Linked DNA regions of Homo sapiens: region 2 is linked to region 1. The links are contacts of gene promoters, found by promoter capture Hi-C in human tissues and cell types (Jung and others, 2019). All regions are on one chromosome and are shown on one strand. The core of a region is centred on a gene start or on the middle of the fragment in contact, and the rest is flanking DNA. Distances in the headings are between cores, read along the strand shown. Region 1 holds the start of TICRR (TOPBP1 interacting checkpoint and replication regulator). Region 2 has its middle 18 kb from the start of IQGAP1.

Evidence for each region. Contacts are between HindIII fragments. The study calls those that stand out against the background at their distance.
Region 2: a fragment that was not itself captured here is called in contact with the fragment with the promoter of TICRR in region 1 in 1 of the 25 tissues and cell types used here (hippocampus).

The regions. Positions count from the first base shown.
Region 1 is chr15:89,573,832-89,578,542 of GRCh38, forward strand. It overlaps TICRR (TOPBP1 interacting checkpoint and replication regulator), which reads left to right and starts at 1,638. Exons shown (of 22, transcript NM_152259.4): 1 at 1,638-2,409. The coding sequence starts at 1,756. RefSeq lists a silencer at 1,626-1,915 and an enhancer at 2,037-2,565. The HindIII fragment of the contact is 16,704 bases long and covers 1-4,711 here.
Region 2 is chr15:90,368,207-90,373,162 of GRCh38, forward strand. No RefSeq gene overlaps it. Among named protein-coding and RNA genes, the nearest start is that of IQGAP1, 18 kb to the right of the region's middle. The HindIII fragment of the contact is 4,146 bases long and covers 1,224-4,956 here.

The DNA.
Region 1 (4,711 bases), core at 388-2,887:
AGAATTACTTAGCAAGCAGAATTCAATGGTGTGGAGTATTGGATCAATCTCCCTAAACACATATTCAGGTAACCGACCTTCATTTTTTGTCCCCTTCTTCTTTCCAAATACCATATTCCACTGATCCTAGAGGCACATCTCACATCTCTGAAATCAGCCTGTTCACTGGTGTCCAGCAAGAGGAAGTGTAAAAAAGTTTCAAAAAAAATCACATGGAGAGACCATCACAGACAACTTCCGGTACACAATATTATATTAACAGTTTAAAAATATGCATATAAATGCATTTCTATCTATATATAACTTCTATCTATGATTATCTATCTATATATAATTCCTTTTTTTTTTGTTTTGTTTTTTTTTTTTTAGTAGAGACAGGGTTTCACTGTGTTAGCCAGGATGGTCTCGATCTCCTGACCTGGTGATTCGCCCGCCTCGGCCTCCCAAAGTGCTGGGATTACAGGCGTGAGCCACCGTGCCCGGCCTATCTATATATAATTCTATGTATTCTATCTATATAGCGATATATAATTTCTATCTGTAATGCAAATCTACATGTGATTTCTATCTATATATACATGTAGATAGAAAATTTAGGGAATTCACTGCAGGTGCTGCTTGCAGTCCACTTTTAAAACCTAACATTACATAATAAAACACTATTTTAAGAAGCTGCACTAGGCCGGGCTTGGTGGCTCACGCCTGTAATCCCAGCACTTTGGGAGGCCAAGTCGGGTGGATCACAAGGTCAGGAGTTTGAGACCAGCCTGGCCAACATGGTGAAACTCCGTCTTTACTAAAAATACAAAAATTAGTCTGGGGTGGTGGCGTGCGCCTGTAGTCCTATTCAGGAGGCTGAGGCAGGAGGATCGCTTGAACCCGGGAGGTGGAGGTTGCAGTGAGCCAAGATCGTGTCAATGCACTCCAGCCTAGGAGACAGAGCGAGACTCCGTTTCAAAAAAAAAAAAAAAAAAAAAAAAAAAAAAAAAGGAGCTGCACGATGCTCCCCTTGGGCGTGTACCATACCTTATTTAACCATTCCCAAACTGTTTCCATTTTTTCTGATGTTAAATAAACTCTAAGATGTACAGACGTCTTTTATCTGGCTCTCCGATTACCTTCTGCAGATAAACTCCTAGAAGTTACTGGGGCAAAGGGAGTGAACCTTTAATTTTTAATAAAATTTTTTAAATTACAGAAAAAGCCGTAGTCGTCAGATTCTACTTCCTAGGCGGTCCACAGGGATTTCAACAAGTTCGATTCAAACCATCCCAAATTCCCTCCCGGCACTAAGTTTTCCTCGGTCTTGGGAAACGTGGCCCCGCAGTCCGCACTCACGACTGCGCACAAACGCTGGCCTCTTTCCAATGGCGAAACTTCTCGACACGCCCCCGAGGCACCACCTCTTTAAAATTTAAAACGAAGGCCCAGGCCAATGAATGCTAAGCTTCTCTCGGACCACAGAGACCCGCCCACCGTCACTCCCTCCACCAATCAGACTGAAGTTTTCTCCACTGCCCCTCCAATCACCGCCAAAAATGGAAGTTGCTCTCGTAACTTACGTAAGGCAAGCAGCCAATAGGAGCAAACCTTGGAAACTAGCTCCCCCAATAGCAGCAGTTCCTGGAGAGCGCGGGAGCCTTTCGACCAGGGTCCCAAAGGAAAGCAGTGAGTGGTGCTGTTTCCCTGAAGGAAGGGACTAAGGGACGGTGGCGCGGGCCCGGACCGGGGCCCCGGGGCGGCGGCACGGCCGATATGGCATGCTGTCACAAAGTAATGCTGCTGCTGGACACCGCGGGCGGCGCCGCCCGCCACAGCCGGGTCCGGCGGGCCGCCCTGCGCCTCCTCACCTATCTGAGTTGCCGATTCGGCCTGGCCAGGGTCCACTGGGCCTTCAAGTTCTTTGACTCGCAGGGGGCGCGGAGCCGGCCGTCCCGCGTGTCTGACTTCCGCGAGCTGGGGTCCCGCTCGTGGGAGGACTTTGAGGAGGAGCTGGAGGCCAGGCTCGAGGATCGCGCCCACCTGCCCGGCCCGGCGCCCAGGGCCACCCACACGCACGGCGCCCTGATGGAGACGCTGCTAGACTACCAGTGGGACCGGCCCGAGATCACGTCGCCCACGAAGCCGATCCTGCGGAGCAGCGGGAGGAGACTGCTGGACGTGGAGAGCGAGGCCAAGGAGGCCGAGGCCGCGCTCGGGGGCTTGGTGAACGCCGTCTTCCTCCTGGCCCCCTGTCCGCACTCGCAGAGGGAGCTGCTGCAGTTCGTGTCTGGGTGCGAGGCCCAGGCCCAGCGCCTGCCGCCCACCCCTAAGCAGGTGATGGAGAAGTTGTTGCCCAAGAGAGTCCGGGAAGTCATGGTCGCCCGAAAAATCACCTTCTACTGGGTGGATACCACCGAATGGTCTAAGGTAAGGAAGGTTACTGTCGTCTCAGATGGCGTGCACGGTGCTTTCCTTGCTAACCAGAACTTGGCAGCGTCCTTAGAACAGCCACAGACCCCGAATGAGACTAATATGACTATGCGTCCCTTCGGAAGGAAACAAATAAATAGGAACAGTTTTCACAACAAAATGGGTAGTTCCTCACTACCTACTGTTTAAGACCCCTCACAATTTGGGCCCTACCTGCCTTCCCAGACTTGATTTTCCTACACACTACATCTACTCTAGCATATTGAAGTCCAGTCCAGAAAATCAACAGGTCTGGACTGCTTGTTTTGTGTTATGTGTGTTGTTCAATCTGCCTGGAATGCCAGTTCTCACTCTTCCAGGCCAGTCTTAACTTCACTTACCCTTTAAGGCTTCTTCTCCCAGTGACAACTGCTCAGTCCAGCGTCTGAATTGCCATACACATTTTGTGTGGCACTTAACCATTTCTCCATATGTTTTGATTATGCACATCTCTCACCCTCCATCTAGTCTAAAAATACCTCAGAGGCAAGCAGCAGGTTTTAACACAATACCCAGGGGTGTGTGTGTATGTGTGTGTGTATATATATATATATATATATATATATATATATATATATACACACACACACATATATATACACATTTATTTATATACATATATATATTTATTTATTATTATTTTTTGAGACAGTGTATGTCGCCCAGGCTGGAATGCAGTGGCTCACTGCAACCTCCACCCCTCCGGGTTCAAGCGATTCTCATGCCTCAGCCTCCCAAGTAGCTGAGACTACAGGCCCACGCCACCATGCCTGGCTAATTTTTTTGTATTTTCAGTGGAGACCAGGTTCCATGCTGCCCAGGCTGGTCTCAAACTCTGGCCTCAGGCAATCCGCCTGCCTTGGCCTCCCGAAGTGCCAGGATTATAGGTGTGAGCCACCACGCCCAGCCACCCAGATGTGTATTAAACGTTGTAGGTGTTCAGTCAGTATTGGCTGACTAAATGAGTACATTCTTGCGTACATTCTTGCAAACTTAAAGTCTTAAATGGCTAATTTGGATTTTTGCTGAGGCGGTGAGGCCCCCTGCTCCTGTTAAGTGCTAGGATAAGTATATACTTTTGCCTTCATCCTTCTCATTGCACTTCATTTAGTCAACAAATGTTCATTGAGAAGCCAGTAACATCTGAGTGCCTACCACACTGTTTGAGCTGCTGGGGACATGGTAACCAAAGCAGGGAACAGATTAAACAGATAAGCAAGTGACAATTTCAAATCATGCTCTGGAGAAAATAAAATGGGGTGAGAGGATGGGAGTAGAAGGTGGTTATTGTATACAGAGTGGTAGTGAGGGAAGGCCTTTTTTTTTTTTTTTTTTTTTTTTTTTGAGACAGAGTCTCGCTTTGTCACCCAGGCTGGAGTGCAGTGGCGTGATCTCGGCTCACTGCAACCTTCACCTCCTGGGTTCAAGCAATTCTCCTGCCTCAGCCTCCCAAGTAGCTGGGATTATAAGCGGGCGCCACCAGGCCTGGCTAATTTTTTTGTATTTTTAGTAGAGACGGAGTTTCACCATGCTACCCACCCTGGTCTCAAACTCCTGAGCTCAGGCAGTCCGCCAACCTCAGCCTCCCAAAGTGCTAGGATTACAGGCATGAGCCACCGTGCCTGGCAGGGAAGGCCTTTTTGAGCAGAGAATTGAATGGTGAAGGAGGAGGAACTCAAAGGTAGGTAAAGAACATTCCAGGTGAGGAGACAAGCAGGTGTAAGGATTTCAGCTGGAAATGAACTTAGTTTGTTTCAGAAACAAAAAGGCAAGGAGTGCTGAGACCTAGTAGGCAAGGGGAGCAGTGTGAGAGAAAGTCAGAAAGCAGGAGAGGCCGATCTGTAGGGCCAAGGTCAAAAATGTGGATTTTGTTCTAATTAATTAATGGGAAGGCTTTGGAATGTGGTTTAACCAAGTGAAAGATGTGATTCCACTTAATGGAAATACATGTCACTAACCCAGGAGTGAGTTAAATTGCAAGATTACAGATGGAAAATGAGCAAGCATTTAAATAATAATATGGTATGTTAAAATTTTCAAAGTGCTTTCACATGCGAAGCCCAAAAAAGGCGTGGCAAATGCAAAATAAGGCAGCAGTGGTTTGTCAAGAAAAGGAAGGGACAAAAAGTGTTTAAGGGGATGGTAAACATTTGATGGGGAAAATGAAATCCTAGATATATTAAAATTTAAGGCAGCCAGTCAAGCCTTAGACACAGTATACAACACATTGCTCAGCTGGAAACAATTGATATCACATCAA
Region 2 (4,956 bases), core at 2,047-4,546, 800 kb after region 1:
TGGAGAGACTTAAAGCATAAGAATTATCTAGGCGAAGAATGATGAGAAAATATTTTTGGAAAAGGAAAACAAACAGTTCTACTAAAATTAAAAGGCTGATGTAGAGACTTGGGAAACTGGGAGGTAAGAGCTCGGACTGTGTCCTCTAAGACAGTAATTCCCGAAGTGTGAGCAAAAGTCCACCTGCATCAGTCTTACTTGGGGTGATTGCTCAAAATGAGGATTTAATGGCTGCACCTCCGAGCAAGTTGGTAATTTACATATCGGAATGCTATCCATCAAGGAAAATGGGCAGACTACAGTTACATGCATCAACACAGACAAGCTTCAAACAATATTGAGTGTAAAAAGCAAGACATAGAAATATATATTTAGTAAGAGTAAAAATACAGTAAAGGTAAAAAAGAGGCAAAACTAAACAATATATTGCTTAAGCAATAAGGATACACAAACTAATGAAAATCAAAGGATTTACTAATACAAACTTCAGTATAGTAATTAATTGGAATGGGAGAGAAAGATGCAAAGTTTCTATTTCTTTTTTTGTTTTGTTTTGAGACAGTGTCTCATTCTGTTGCCAAGGCAGGAGTGCAGTGGCAGGATCTCAGATCACTGCAAGCTCAGCCTCCTGGGTTCAAGTGGTTCTTCTGCCTCAGCCTCCCAAGTAGCTGGGATTACAAGCATGCACCACCACACCCAGCTAATTTTTGTAATTTTAGTAGAGATGGAGTTTCACCATGTTGGCCAGGCTGGTCTCGAACTCCTGGTCTTAAGTAATCCGCCCACCTCTGCCATCAAAGTTTCTGTTTCTTAAGTTGGCTGCCGAGTACACAGGTTTTCTTTGTAAAATAATTATTTAAATTGTTAATATGCATTACTTATATGCTTTTCATTTACAATGTATTTCACAAGAAAAATAAAACAAAGCAAATAAGAAAACAGAACACTTCTCCAGAGATTGATCTTTTTCACTCAAATCTCATTGAGTTATACTGAGGGGGAAAAAGAGTAATCTGAGTGCCTGGGCCCTGAACAGACACACTAGATCAGTTCCTTCATTCCCACTCAAACACATGCACACACACGCACAAACACACATTTTCTTATATTTCCTTCAGCAAACCCCCCGCCCCACCAACCAACCCCAAAACACCCTCTGCTCCTTTATGTATATAAATTAGAGCAGATAAATGTCCAGAAGATTATAGGCCATCTTTCTATAAACAGCCAATCTTGGACCTGGTGTCTGAATGGGGGATGCCCTGCTGCATTAAAGATGCTCATGTGAACATTTTGTTGTTTCCCAGAAAAAAAGTTTCCACATTTTAGATTATTTTCACAGGGTGAGAACAATTTTACACCTCCCTTACTTGCTGCAGAATCTTTTTTTTTTTTTTTTTTTTTTTTTTGAGACAGGTCTTGCTCTATCACTCAAGCTGGAGTGCAGTGGCACGATCTCGGCTCACTGCAACCTCCGCCTCCCAGGTTCAAGCAATTCTTCTGCCTCAGCCTCTCGAGTAGCTGGGATTACAGGTGCGCACCACCATGCCCAGCTAATTTTTTGTATTTTTAGTAGAGATGGGGTTTCACCATGATGGCCAAGCTGGTTTCAAACTCCTGACCACAAGTGATCCGCCCACTTCGGCCTCCCAAAGGGCTAGGATTACAGGTGTGAGCCACCACGCCTGGCTGCTGTGGAATCATTTTTAAAGTGATTGTATCAATTTACAGTGTTCCGAACAGTAAATGGCTACTAGTCTCATCACACCCTCATCTTTAAAAAAGTTTTGCTAATTTAATAGACATGATTCTTACATATTGTCTTAATTTGCATTTCTTTGCTTACCAGTGAGGTTGAACATTTTTTTCTATGTTAGAATCTTTCTTGTATTTCTTCTGTTGTTTTCATTAGAGTAACTCAGAGCAGGATTGGGAATCTGAAAACATGAACATTTGATTTTGAGGAAGTCATTGTTTTCCTGTTGTCTTCCTTCCCCCTCTCTGCTTTATTATTTTTTACTTCAGGTTCATTTATAGAAATATCAGAAAATACAATTAAGCAAACAGAGTAAATTCCACTTCCCAGAGATAACCACTACCGTTTGTTGTATATCCTTTTAAGCTTTTTCTCTGCCAAAAATATTCACAAATATATCGCTTATTCTTTCTGAGCCTGTTTCCTCATCTATCAAATGGAATACTTGTTCTTCAAGTTGATAATTAACTGGTGGGAGCACATGAAAGTATTTTATAAAGTGCACAAATGCAAGTTGCTGCTCTTATGACAAAGAAAAAATGTATTTTATTCTGCCAAGCAGAATGATGACACTTTGTTTCCTGAACACAGCCTGCTCTCTCCAGTACAATTTCTTCTCTCTAGAATAGCTTCTTGCTTCAATTCCTCCTGCTGAACTACTATCTACTCTTTTTTTAAAAAAATCAATATTAAAATATACAAAAATTAGTGTAAAGAGCAACCACGTACCCACTATACAGCTTAGGAAAAGAGTCTGGCATTTCTCACTCCTATGCCTTTATATATACTTGCTTTATTTCCTGTCTCTCTATATATACATACATATATATTTAGTAAGAGCAAAAATACAGTAAAGATCAGGGAAGGTGCGGTGGCTCACGCCTGTAATCCCAGCACTTTGGGAGGCCGAGGCGGGCAGATCACGAGGTCAGGAGTTTGAGATCAGCTTGACCAACATGGTGAAACCATGTCTCTACTAAAAATACAAAAATTAGCCAGGCGTGGTGGCTCATGCGTGTAGTCCCAGCTATTCAGGAGGCTGAAGCAGAAAAATCCCCTGAACCTGGGAGGTGGAGGTTGCCGTGAGCCAAGATTGTGCCACTCACTCCAGCCTGGGCGACAGAGTGAGACTCCATCTCGGGGAAAAAAAAAAATACAGTAAAGGTAAAAAACAGGCAAAACTAAATATATTGCTTAAGCAATAATGATACTCATACAAACTAATGAAAATCAAAGGATTTACTAATACAAATTTATAGTAGTTAATTGGAAGCATATGTATTATATAAATATACATGTATTATACATATATGTATATATGTATATATATAGAAAAAAGCAAATATATGTATATATACATATATATCTATATATGTAAAATTTTTATTTATAAAATGTTTTTGAGCATGAAATGATATATCATTGTGGTGTTAATATGCGTCTTAGCTGGGCATAGTAGGTCACACCTGTAATCCCAACATTTTGGGAGGCTGAGGCAGGAGGATTTCTTGAGCTCAGGAGTTCAAGACCAGCCTGGACAGCATAGTGAGACCCCATCTCTAAAAAAAAAAATAAAAATTATCTGGCGTGGTGGCTGATGTCTGTAGTTCCAGCTACTCAGGAGGCTGAGGTGGGAGGATCACCTGAGCACTGGAGGTCAAGGCTGCAGTGAGCTATGATCATGCCACTGCACTCCAGCCTGGATGACAGAGCCAGATCCTGTTTCAAATAAATAAATTAAATTAAGTTAAAAAGTATCTCCCTGATTAGTGGGGAAGTTACCCAACTTTTTTTTTTTTTTTTTAGACAGAGTCTCAGTCTGTCTCCCAGGCTGGCATGCAGTGGCACGATCTTGTCTCACCGCAACCTCCACCTCCTGGGTTCAAGCAATTCTCCTGCCTCAGTCTCCCGAGTAGCTAGGATTACAGGCATGTGCCACCATACCCGGCTAATTTTTTGTATTTAGTCGAGATGGGGTTTCGCCATGTTGGGCAGACTGGTCTCGAACTCCCGACCTCAGGTGATCCTCCCACCTGGGCCTCCCAAAGTACTGGGATTACAGGCGTGTGCCACCGTGCCCAGCAGTTACACAACTTTTACAAGTTTATTGTTGTTCATGTTGCCTCTTCAGGGAATTTTGTTTATAAAGTACCTATTCTTCAAGGCCCCATTAAAACACCTCCCTCTCCATAAAGTATTTCCAGATCTCCTCTATCAAGCAGATAGGATTTCCTTTGGACTTCTATAATCCTTTCTTTCTACATCTTGGGTTTCACTCACTTCTTATTTCATCTTGCATTACAGTCACTTGTGTACTTGTCTAAAGGGCAGTGACTATGTTTAACTCAACTTTATGCCCTTGTTCATACTAGTACAAAAGTAAACATTTCATAAATCTTTGTTGAATCAAATCCTACTCCTCCCCTGCTTATAAAATCTTAAATCATTTCCTATTGTCTACAGACGAAAGTAGAATCTCGTTTAATGTAGAATTTAAGACCCTTCCACGGGCTCTAGCATCAACCTTCCTTTCTTGCTCTTCTCCTGGGAGGACCTTGCTTTCCGCCCCAGATACTAGATTCTTCATCCACAGTAAGGTCCCAGTCCACTAATGTTTGGCTTTTCTCTCTGTAGCTGGGATGGCAGGTTGGTCCCACCCATTTTAGTTGCCTATAAAATTCTTTTTTTTTTTTTTTTGAGATGGAGTCTTGCTCTGTTGCCCAGGCTGGTATGCAGTGGCATGATCTTGGCTCACTGCAACCTCCGCCTCCTGTATTCAGGCAATTCTCCTGCCTCAGCCTCCCGAGTAGCTGGGATTATAGGCAACTGCCACCATGCCCGGCTAATTTTTGTATTTTTAGAAGAGACGGGGTTTCACCATGTTGGCCAGGCTGGTCTCGAACTCCTGACCTCAGATGATCCGCCCTCCTCGGCCTCCCAAAGTGCTGGGATTACAGGCGTGAGCCACCGCGCCCGGTCTGAGCCACCGCGCCCGGTCTGAGCCACCACACCCGGTCTAATTTTTGTATTTTTAGTAGAGGTGGGGTTTCACCATTTTGGCCAGGCTGGTTTTGAACTCCTGACCTCGTGATCTGCCCGCCTCGGCCTCCCAAAGTGCTGGGATTACAGGCTTGAGCCACTGCGTCCAGCCCAAACTCTTTAAGAGAAAATCTCTTGGGATCTTGAAGCCAGAAGCTTGC